3 separate regions of the Homo sapiens genome follow, and regions 2 and 3 are each linked to region 1. The links are contacts of gene promoters, found by promoter capture Hi-C in human tissues and cell types (Jung and others, 2019). All regions are on one chromosome and are shown on one strand. Each heading gives the region's core, a stretch centred on a gene start or on the middle of the fragment in contact. The rest is flanking DNA. Distances are from core to core; before and after follow the strand shown. Region 1 holds the start of BCAP31 (B cell receptor associated protein 31). Region 2 has its middle 8.3 kb from the start of HAUS7. Region 3 overlaps CCNQ (cyclin Q).

The links. Contacts are between HindIII fragments. The study calls those that stand out against the background at their distance.
Region 2: a fragment that was not itself captured here is called in contact with the fragment with the promoter of BCAP31 in region 1 in 1 of the 25 tissues and cell types used here (pancreas).
Region 3: a fragment that was not itself captured here is called in contact with the fragment with the promoter of BCAP31 in region 1 in 1 of the 25 tissues and cell types used here (IMR-90 fibroblasts).

The regions. Positions count from the first base shown.
Region 1 is chrX:153,721,916-153,725,636 of GRCh38, forward strand. BCAP31 (B cell receptor associated protein 31) reads right to left here and starts at 2,472. Exons shown (of 8, transcript NM_001256447.2): 1 at 2,419-2,472; 2 at 1,238-1,373. The coding sequence starts at 1,329. ABCD1 (ATP binding cassette subfamily D member 1) reads left to right here and starts at 2,941. Exons shown (of 10, transcript NM_000033.4): 1 at 2,941-3,721. The coding sequence starts at 3,352. RefSeq lists silencers at 1,751-1,930, 2,141-3,100 and an enhancer at 3,561-3,721. The HindIII fragment of the contact is 13,330 bases long and covers 1-3,721 here.
Region 2 is chrX:153,476,989-153,480,709 of GRCh38, forward strand. It overlaps a transcript of HAUS7 not described here and the pseudogene ECMXP. Among named protein-coding and RNA genes, the nearest start is that of HAUS7, 8.3 kb to the left of the region's middle. RefSeq lists enhancers at 1-222, 223-723. The HindIII fragment of the contact is 3,794 bases long and covers 142-3,721 here.
Region 3 is chrX:153,593,399-153,597,119 of GRCh38, forward strand. CCNQ (cyclin Q) reads right to left here. Exons shown (of 5, transcript NM_152274.5): 2 at 2,606-2,789; 3 at 1,149-1,281. Among named protein-coding and RNA genes, the nearest start is that of CCNQ, 3.9 kb to the right of the region's middle. The HindIII fragment of the contact is 4,557 bases long and covers 1-3,721 here.

The DNA of each region.
Region 1 (3,721 bases), core at 1,222-3,721:
AAACAAAAAAACCACAACAACAAAAAGAAAACATACTGGTAGTCTCTGAAAAGGGAAACTTACTTTTCATTGTACTCCCCTTTGTAATATTCAAATGTTTGCCCCATACACGTTATTTCTTTAAACTGTCTTTCCACATGATAAACCTTGGTTTGTCTATATCCCCCGACCCTGTTATGATGAGATGGACCCCAGACCTCACATCATTTCCATCCACAAATGCTTTGGGATGCAGCTCTAAGAAGAGACTTCAGAAGTGTTTACATATTGTTCAAATCAACAAGAAGCCCTCATCATCAGGGCTAGAGTTGAATATGCCAATCACTGAAGGCAATGATATTTGTTTGAATCCGGACCCAACAAGGTACCGATTTGGCATTCGGTAGATAAACGTCTTAAATCCAGCTTATTCTGGAAGCTCCCCCTTCCCTCTCCCTCTTTCATTTGCTTTTCCAGTTTCCTTTGTGTAGAAATCAGATTGTCTGTCCTCTAAAGCTTCCCAGATTAAAGCTCCCCGGGGCCCTCTATCTCTGCACGTCTTGTCAACTGTACGAAGGTGTGGTTTTCTACAAGAATCCTCCTCAGACAGCACTGCATACTTTCTATGGTATCACATCAAAGATAATTTTTCACGAAAAAACGGCTTTTAAAAATACCTGTGGAGATTTGGCCTTATTTGTAATATCGTAATTTAAATAGGGATGTGTTCAGGTATTATACATAATTAAAATTAATCTCCAATTCACTTTTAACAGGTCCTCTGTTCATTAAAAGGGAATATGGCTTCATCCTCCACAGGCTGAGTAATGTTCATGCAGCCACTGCGCAATACCAGTGAGACTAGTTAGGAGGACAAGAGTCACCAAATCAGCAACAACGTGACCCAGTGGTGCAAGTCTTCCGAATCCCACGCTACCATCCCAGCACCCCGTGGACCAAGAGTGGGTGGGAGGGCATCATTTCCAGAACTGTAACATAGATCTTCCTGCCTCTCGGGGGCATTCTGAAGACCAGAAGGCAGGGGACACAGGAAAAGGAACTGAGCAAGTCATGACGAAGCAGAACCCTGGGAAGGGTTGGCAATAACAAACACAACCCCTGCCACCCCCACCCCAGACAGGTTCTACCTGTTCCATCGGGTCCCAATTCCAGGGTCCACCAGCTGCACACACCAGTCCCAGGGCTAGGGCACAGGCACCCTCCTGCCTAACTCGCCTGCTTGCTCCATAGGCCATACCTTTTAGGAGAAATGAAGGGAATGCAGAGAAGCAACACAACAAAGACCTCCGCATAGAGGAAGGTGGCAACTGCAGTCCACTGCAGACTCATCCTGTTGCTAGAAGGTTTCCCACAGGAAGATGTGAGCTTGTTTCCTGGCAGGGCACAAAAGGTACGGGACTTGTAAGCGCTGGGCAGCCAAGAACATCCAGTTCAGTTACCCTGCGAGGCTGGGGCCGCCACTCTCCACCCTGACCCCCTGCACTTTGCTTCAAAGTCTCTGATGCGCTGGCGGAAGCAGGGCTCCACTCGGCAGGGCCTCTTGGCCAGCAGCGTTCACAGGCCCCACAAACTTCCGTTCGCTGGTCAATTACCTGCCCCCTCCAGCACGTGTGTCAACACGTCCAGAGCGGCCTCTCCCGACGATCCCTGCCCCAGGAAGCCCGAGATTTCCGACGCCCGTTTAACTGAAAGGCGTTCTTCGGGAAGAGCAGTGCCAGGGCACCAAGAGGAGGACGCCTCGGCACCCATCGGGCGCTCCCTTCCCCGCCAGGCAGAACTCAGCCGCAGAGGCGGGCGCTCTGCGGGCCCAAATCCCCGCTACCAGGCAGGCCCAAGGCCGCACCTAGTCCAAGCGCTGCCGACGCCCCCGCCTCCCACCGTCCCCACGGCGCCCGCGGAGAGAAACCGGCACCTCCCTCGAGGATCCAGCGGCCTTCCGCCCGGGGCCGCTTCGCCTCCGGTGGGCTGGAGGCCCGCAAGAGCGACTCCTAGAGGGCAGGATTCGGGACCAAGCGCAAAGGCAGGTCTCGACCAAGCACCTCAAGGCCCCATACGGAGAAAGTTCTAGACGCAGTATCCTCAGAAGCCAGGGGTCCTTACAGTAGCCCTCGCGGGCCCCAGCGCCCACCCAGAGCGAGGGGCCTCCGACTTGGCCCCGGCCTGGCACACCGTCCCGGAGGCCCATCCCGGCCGCTCCTCCAGGTGGGGCTTCACCGCCCCCCGCCCCGCCCCCGAGACCAGCTTCTAGAGGCGCCGCCCGGTTTCCCCTCGCCCCTGCCTCTCACACGCAGGTAGGCTGCGGGCCCCGAGATTCCCCGGCCCCCGGGCCTCCCCGCGCCGCTCGCCTCTCTCCCTCGTCGATGGGCCGGGGAGCCTCCGCGGTCCCGGAGCCCAGCCCGGCGCGCGGAGCCCGCTCACCGAGTTTCCCACAGTCAACGTGCAGGCCCCGCCGCAGCAACAGAACTCTCCCACAGCAGCCCCGGCCCCGCCCCTCATACCGCGGCCGGAAACCGGAAGCGCCCGCCGGGCACCGCCCACCAGCCCTCGCGAGGCCCCGGAGGCTCCGCCCACCTCCGCTTCCCACCCCGCCCCGGAGCGGAGGGCCGGCGCTCCGAGCGGGAGAGGAAGAGGCGCCTCGGGCTCCGGGCGAGCAGGGCGGGGTGGAGCGAGCACGCGGGCGGGGCGGGGCGGGGCTTTGTCGGGCCGGCGAGGGCCGCTTCTCTAGTCCGCGCGGCCGTCCCACGTCTCTGTGGTGCGGGAGGGGCCCCGCCGAGGGGCGAGAACGGGAGGTGGGGGTGTGGGCGGGCCCCGCCGAGGGGCGAGAACAGGGTGGGGCTCCCGCGCCCGGACTCCGCCCCTCGCCCCTCCTCCGCCTCCTCCCCTTCCCCCGACTCGCCCCTGGGGAAGAGTGGGTGGGGATTCTGGGCCGGTGGAGGAGTCACTGTCGCTTCAGCCAGGCTGCGGAGCGGACGGACGCGCCTGGTGCCCCGGGGAGGGGCGCCACCGGGGGAGGAGGAGGAGGAGAAGGTGGAGAGGAAGAGACGCCCCCTCTGCCCGAGACCTCTCAAGGCCCTGACCTCAGGGGCCAGGGCACTGACAGGACAGGAGAGCCAAGTTCCTCCACTTGGGCTGCCCGAAGAGGCCGCGACCCTGGAGGGCCCTGAGCCCACCGCACCAGGGGCCCCAGCACCACCCCGGGGGCCTAAAGCGACAGTCTCAGGGGCCATCGCAAGGTTTCCAGTTGCCTAGACAACAGGCCCAGGGTCAGAGCAACAATCCTTCCAGCCACCTGCCTCAACTGCTGCCCCAGGCACCAGCCCCAGTCCCTACGCGGCAGCCAGCCCAGGTGACATGCCGGTGCTCTCCAGGCCCCGGCCCTGGCGGGGGAACACGCTGAAGCGCACGGCCGTGCTCCTGGCCCTCGCGGCCTATGGAGCCCACAAAGTCTACCCCTTGGTGCGCCAGTGCCTGGCCCCGGCCAGGGGTCTTCAGGCGCCCGCCGGGGAGCCCACGCAGGAGGCCTCCGGGGTCGCGGCGGCCAAAGCTGGCATGAACCGGGTATTCCTGCAGCGGCTCCTGTGGCTCCTGCGGCTGCTGTTCCCCCGGGTCCTGTGCCGGGAGACGGGGCTGCTGGCCCTGCACTCGGCCGCCTTGGTGAGCCGCACCTTCCTGTCGGTGTATGTGGCCCGCCTGGACGGAAGGCTGGCCCGCTGCATCGTCC
Region 2 (3,721 bases), core at 789-3,288, 250 kb before region 1:
CAATGGCCGGGTGCCCTGGGACTGGACAGAGTGGGCAGCAGGAGTACCACTCCCCAGGGGCCCACCCAGGTCAGCCACCAGGCTCCCGACCAGGGGAAGGGCAGCGAGGCCAGGCCTCCATGGGAGCTGGGAACTGAGAGCACCCCAGGCCTCACCCCTTCCTGCCTAGGTGGGTAGGAGCGGAGTCCCTCCCTCCTCCAGGCTGGCTGTGCCAGAGAAACCTGGGAGCAGGCTTCCCCCACCCCCAGCCCAGCTAATGGGAACCAGATGGCAGGATGTTTAGTCAGCGCCTGGGGAGCGGCGCAAACAGGGGAAATGGGTAGGGGGCCAGGATTCCAGAATCCATCCCCAGGCAGGGGGAGGGGCGGAGCCGGGGTTCCCATCACCGTCCAGTCTCCCGACCCCAGGTGCTAGGCTCAGCTCAGGCAGGGACCTACCCCGTTTCTCAGGCGATGCCTGGACCAGGAGGCAGGAGGACTGGCCTCTGGTATCGAGACTTGGGTGAGCCCCACTCCTTCTCTGTTCCTTCTCTGTAAAATGGGGGGTCGACTGTGCTCTGTCTTGCAGGATCCTGGGGCAAGCTTCACTTAGTCTTGGCAGCATACTTCAAGTCTGCCGTGCCCCAGTGCTACCCTGTCCCAGCTTCGGCAGCTGCCCCCAGGCAGGACACTGGCCCACAGCCATCCTGTGTCACCCACAGGACGCACAAGGAGATGGTGGCCTCATCCCTGACTCCAGAGGCATTTGCTGACTCCCTAGATGGTCCCTGTTTCTGGTCTGTACGTGGCAGGGTCCAAATTCAGGTCAGAAACCAGAGCCCTGGATGGCGAGGGTACCCTGGATATAGCAGAGGACCCCATGTGGCTCCTACGGGACTGTTAGCTGGAGCGGCAGCTCCTCAAGGAGCCCAGTGAAGACCCAGTTGCCAGGCCTCCTCCCCACCTTGACCAGCCCTGCACCCCTCTGGATCTCACACATTGCCTCATTGCCCCAGGATGGAGACTCCTGCCTGATGGCCCTTGCCGGCCCCTGCCCCTCCTCCACTGCTTCCCTTCTCCCCTCCACCCAAGCCTTGCCCACAATTAACTCATTTCTTAAGATCGCTTCCAAACCTAAGTCAACGCTGGACAGGGCTGTAGGAAAAGCTTCCTCAATACTGGCCCTGAAGAGCCGAGCCAGCGGTGAGATCAGTCCTCTCTGCCAGCCCCCGCCTGCCTGCTCCCACAAACCCTGGCTCCCACAGCAGAACGCGGGGTTGGGGCTGCAGGGACACCCCAGTTGGAGCAGGGACTTCCGGCAGCCCTCTGAGGGTGGCGGGCTCTAGGAACTGGAGCCAGACACCCCCTTATTTGCCCCTCACTCCACCACACGCCCCTCTGGCCCCACCCAGCAGTCCCCTCATCGAGCCCAGCCTATTTTCCACCTCATGTCATCCTGACCCACAGGTGCCCCTCTGACCAAAAGGATGCGTGCAGCCTAGGCACATCAGAGATCCCAGACTGTTGGCCAAGAAGTCTGGGGGGGACCTGTGACATGGCTTCACCCAGGCAGTGCCTGGAACACCCATGCTCCTATGTAGGGGGTCGGGACAGCCACAGAACGTCAACTCTGCCCCCTACCCCATTTTACAGAGGAGAAGGTAGAGACCTGGAGGGCAAGCAGAGGAACCAGGAGCCAGCCCAGCCCGAGGCACACCCATGCCCAAGCAGCACTGGGGTCTCAGGCACGGGAGGCATACCCTCGCCGCCTGCACTGTGCCCACAGATTCTATTTCCTCTGGAACCCGGAGGCCTCCACAGTGCTGCCCACGGCAGAAGCCCACGGCCTTGGCACCCACCCCCTCTCCTTTCGCAGCCATGGATGCAGGGCCCAGCAGCCTGCGGTGGCCGACCCGCTCTGTGGTGGGCCTCTCAGGCCTGCCACGTGTGAGACAGAAGCCCCATTCATGGAGGCCACTGGGCCAGAGCCAGCGGAGAATCAATGCGGGCCTCACAGCAAAAGGGCAGGACCGTCCGGTCTGAGGAAAGGGCAATCTGTCTTTCTCTTCAGGTGGGAGCAGTGCACGTTGTGGGGAGTTGGGGGCAAGGTCGGGGGAGGCGTTTGCTCGACAGAAGGGGGGCCTTCCCAGGGAAGGGCTGGGGTGGGCAGGGAAGACTCCAAGTGCCGCAGCCAGGGCCAGGAGCTCAGGGAGCAAGACCAACTTGTGCCGTCCGCCATCGTCCTGCCGTGGCCACCACCGTGCCTCTCCCAGCTCTCCTTCCCTCCATGGCAGCCAAGAGGAGTGTGCTGCTCCCCATCCTGGCACTGTGGGCGGGGAGCTGCTCAGGAGGGGCCCCACCAACCCCCATGGGCTTGGCTACCCTGCAGCTGCTGCCCAGCCCACCAGGGGCCCCCGACGGTGAGTAGCTGGCACCAGCAGGAAGAAGACTGCCGCAGGCTGTCCACCTCAGGCCCACTTTGGGTACTCAGGCAGGGCTGCAAAGGGCCCATGGCCCTGAGAGAGCCCTCCCTGGAGGGCGAGGGGTGTGCGCAGACTCTAGGGGCGAGGGAGGGAAGAGGCCTTCCTAGGAGCGGGCGCTACAGTGAGGCTGAGAGCGGGCTGGGGTGTGCTGGGGAGGAGTTGCTCTGGCTGCCCCAGTGCCTCCTGAGACAGGAAGAATCTCAGGTGGCTGGGAGTATAGGGCTTGGGGGTGAAGTGGGGTTGCTGGCAGAGAGGGGCTTGAGGGGCCCGAGGACATGGGCTATGAGTGTGGCCTTTGTCTTATAGGCCAGTGGTTGTAGCCACACTTGGTGGCCCTGCCCCAGGCTTGGGGGTAGGGCGGGAGGGGCCAGGTGGGTGGGTCTGCCCCTCACCCCTGCAGACAGAGCGGTGCCCCCCATGGTTGGCCCTGGTTAAGGAGGAGCTGCTCCATAGAGGACAGGAGGCATTGGGGTTATCAACATTCCTCCAAAGTGGCTCACAGACCCCTTGAGGTGGCCCCTGGGCTTGCCTAATCCCCAACAAACCCCCTGTAGCAGACACTGGGGCTTTCACTTCTAAAAGCAAATTGTGCCAGGTCGCAGCGACCCCTTCATCTCCCCAGAAGCTGTCCCTAGGAAGCACGTGTGAAGTCCTTGCTCACTAATGGGTATGGGGCAAAGGGGATGCTGGGGAAACGCCCTACCCCCCACCCTTGGGACACACTGGGGAAGTGAGGGGAGGTGGGACCCAAGGTCCCTTGAGCAGCCCAAGGCTTTCTACCCAGGGCTGCTGAAGCTCCCTGGGCCCAACCACCGGTCCAACCCCTGGGCCTAACCTATAGGCCCAGCCCCTTAGCCCTAATGGGCCTAGAGCGCCACCCACCCCCCTCCCCAGCAGTGAGGAGCTGTGTAAGTTCTGAGAGGTACTCTGGGTTACTGGCCCCAGGGGCTGGTGGCCTGCTGCTGACGGTGGGGACACTCTGTTCTCTCGCCAGTGCTCCTCAGGAGGTAAGGGAAAGGCGGGGCGGGGGGAGGCCTGGGTAAAGAGGAAGGGCGATGGGCTTTCTAGCAGCTGACAGCCCCTTGGGGAAAGGAGGCAAGGCCCCCAGCCCACACTGGCTCCTTCCGCAGGTCAGCTGCAGCCCATCCCTGGCATCGGCCACCCAGACAAGCCTGAGGCTGGGAAGCTGGACCAGTTGCGGGATCAGCCCACCCCGAAGCAGGGAGCTCAAGGAACCCCCACCCAGTCCCCCTCCACTGG
Region 3 (3,721 bases), core at 742-3,241, 130 kb before region 1:
ACCAAGCTATCAGTTCCCCATCTGGGCACAGATCACACACCCCTTGAGGTCTGAGTGCTGCTCTTTCCTAAGCCCTGTCGCCTTGACAACTCCACCCTGCAGCCACCAGGGCATCTCCCACCTTCCCCCAGGATGCTCAGCAAGCATTCTGCCCACTAAGACACTACTGCGCAGAAATCCCAGACCAGGGCTTTCCAGGTACTGAGGTGGGAGTGTGGAAGGCTGGAGGCAAGATTATAAAGGCAACACGAAGGGCCCATGCGGGTGGAACCGTCTCTCACCTTGGCTGTGGTGGTAGGTCCGTGAACGGAGTCGTGATAAAATGGAACAGAAAAATATACACACAGGAATACAAGTGGAAGTGAGGATGCCAGTGGACTGTGTTGGTTTTGGCATCCTGGCTGTGTTACCCCTGGGGGAGACTGGGCTAAGGGTACATGTCACAACTGCATGGGAATCTACAATGATCTCAGGAAGAGTTCCGATGAAAAAGAATGAAACTCCTAGCCCAGAGCCCCAAACCACAACTCCTCCATCTCTGTCTCCGGCCAGCCTTCTGAGCTGCCCGTGCATGGAGCTGCGGTGCCCAGAGCATCGTGTGCCAGTCGCCTAAGCGTTCCACTTTTCCCTTTTACTGCTGTTTGAAATGGTTCTTCTGTTGAGACTCACACATTCCTAGAAGTTAAAGCATGCTGCTTGACTCAAGCGATTTGGCTTTCCCCATGGCTTCCTAAGCACAGCTGAGCTGGAGGCGTGCTCCGAGGCATCACAGCATCCCCTGGGGACGGGGACTCTGGCCGGTCACAAAACCAGCCTGCTTCCCCGAGGCCCAGCGTGCACACCATCTATATGGACCACAGGAGCTGCCACAGCTTCAGCGGGCAGCACGGACCCCGCCCACAGGTGAGCAGGCAGAAAGGCAGAAGCTGAAATGAGAATTGGCTGAGAAAACCCACAGGGGTGGGACGGGAGAGGCCGGGCGGCCAACCCAGCCACAAACACAGAGCCAGGAGACCCAGTTCCCAGCCGCAGCCCTGCTCTCCTTCTGTGCTGTGCTCTCGAGTATGAGATGGGATGCACTTTTGGGATAAAGAACAGAGACCATGGCTTGAGCCTCTCCAAACAGGCACCAGTTCCCCAGTATGTACCTTGTGTGGATGCTGGAAGGAGACCTGGAAGCGCAGAACTCTCAGCATGAGAAGCTCACACTGCACGATGCTGTCCCGGAGTTCCCAGAAGCGGGAGTCCAATTCCAGGGGCTCACCGCTTGGGTTAAAGTACCTGCGCAGAGAAATGGCAATGCTTCAGCAGCCAGGGCAGTCTCCTGAGCACTGGATGGCTCAAATTGCTTAAGTCACACAATGTCCAGATGCAAACTACATCGTCCATCTGCAGATTCATGGAGGGTCATTTTATTTGGGTTTTTATACAAAAATTCTTCATCTCCACATCTAGTGTAGAGAATGAAAACAGTAACCAACAGAGGAAAGAAGCCAGCTCCTAGTTTTAGCCAGATGGGCTGTCCGCTATCATTCAGCAAAATGTCAAGTGCAAAGACTGGCTGTTGGCGATGGCTCCAGAGGAACCGGAAGCTTGAGCATGCCAAGTCGGTTGTGCTTCCTGTTATACTCAGCCCGGCATTAGGGAGTCTTCATCACCTGAGGTGGCAATGCCCGGGGCTCTCACTCTGGGCCCAAGGAACGTATTTTTTTAACTTATTTTTACTTTTTACTTTTTGAGACAGGGTCTTGCTCTGCCTTTCAGGCTGGAGTACAGTGGTGCAGCCACAGCTCACTGCAGCCTTGACCTCCTGGGCTCAAGCGATCCTCCCGCCTCAGCTACCCGAGCAGCTGGAACCACAGGCATGCGCCACCACGCCCGGCTAATTTTTGTATTTTTGGTAGAGACGAGGTTTCACCATGTTGACCAGGCTGGTCTTGAACTCCTGGGCTCAAGCGATCCACCCGCCTCGGCCTCCCAAAGTGCTGGGATCACAGGCGTGAGCCACCACGTCCAGCCATCCAAGGAACATGTTTAAGCCTCTCATGGGAATGATATACTCCAAAAAGTGAACATTTCTCAGTTTTGTATTTCCCAGACCGTCTTTCCCTCGCCTTGGCGAAGACCCTGCATTCTGCCCCAGCAGGAACACACCTGCTTGGGCCGGCTGTGCCATGCCCACGCCACACCCACAGCAGGGCGAGGCTCCTAAGCAACTGGGACCTACCACCTGGCTGGGTCTGCACCCTCCCGCTGCAGGCAAGCTCTTCTGCCTGCAGCCATCCCTGTCTAAGACTTCCACAGAATCTTCTTTGACATGCCTCTCCAAGCTCCCTCTGCTGAAGCCCCGCCTCTGCCCTCCATCCAGCTTTCGAGGCTCCCCATAATCTGGCCCAGCGTTTCTCTCACAGACCCCACTGGCCTCTGACATCAGGCTCCTTCTCACGTTTGCTGCTACTGTTTCTGGCCCTGCCTGGTTCAAGGCCATCCAGGTACTTCCTTCCAAGCTCCATTGCTGGCACCTGGTGGGCAGGGCCCCATAGGAGCCTTCCCTGCCCGTCCCCCCCACCGGGTGGAGATCAGGAGCCCAGCCAAATGCCATTACCTGTTGGACACATTGATGATGTCACGAGTCCGCAGGTGCTGCTCTTCCACTTTGCCGGCCAAGTAAATTGAAGACATGGCAATCAGGTAAGGGTCATAGGCGTCCAGGTTGGTCTCGCAAAAGAACTTATGGTAAATGGTGCAAGCAGTGGCAATGGGAATGGACCGCATCCCTAGCTTGACACCTGCGGAGAGAAAGCAGGCAAGAGAGGACTTCAATCCAGCGCTGGCTCACTGCTCCAGTGAGGGGAGCCATTGGAATGGGCCCTAGCAGGTACAACCCTACTTGGACAAGGCTAAGAACTTCCAGCAGAGCCAGTGGCTCCTGCTGGGTCTCTTACTGGGCTCTCAGACTCTAGTGGGTGACCCAAGCCCCTGGGGATGGTGTTCAAATGCAGACTTCCCCTTTTGTAGGTCTGCGGCTCTGAGATTCTCCACTTCTGACAAGCCCCAGGTCATGCCCATGTCAGGGGTCTATAGACCACGCTCTGGGAAACAAGGGTTCCGAGGACCGCTCAGTTAGCAACTGGCATAGCAGCTTCTGCAAAACCCTGGAAAAGGACTATATGCTGTTGTGTGTCTGGGTTCACCTTAGCAAACAGCTAGCTAGAAGTCGCCCACCCCACAGCTACGACGACAGAAAAGAAACGGCCTCGTGGGTGCCACAAGTCCTGAAGTCACAGTGAAAGATTACACTGAGCACTGGTTTCGTAGTCCACAGGTTAGAAGAGGTGAGCAAAGCAAGCAGCGTGACTGCCAAGAGTAACCACTTGCATTGCAGAGAAAAGGCAATGTTTATGGCCACAGCCAGGCACCAGGGAAGGACACCAGCACATTGAAAAGTGGGCTGGGCATGCTGGTTTACGCCTGTAATCCCAGCACTTTGGGAGGCTGAGGCAGAAGGATTGCTTGAGCCCAGGAATTCGAGACCAGCCTAGGCAACAGAGTGAGACCCTGTCTCTACAAAAAAGAGAAAGAAAAAAATTTTTAAGGTGAACAAAACTCAAAACACCAGAGCAGGATTCAGTGGATTCTACTTAGGGGTTAAAGCCCATCCCCAGCCCATCCCTGAATGGCTCCTAAGAAAATCACTGCCCTGGTGCACAGAACCAAAACA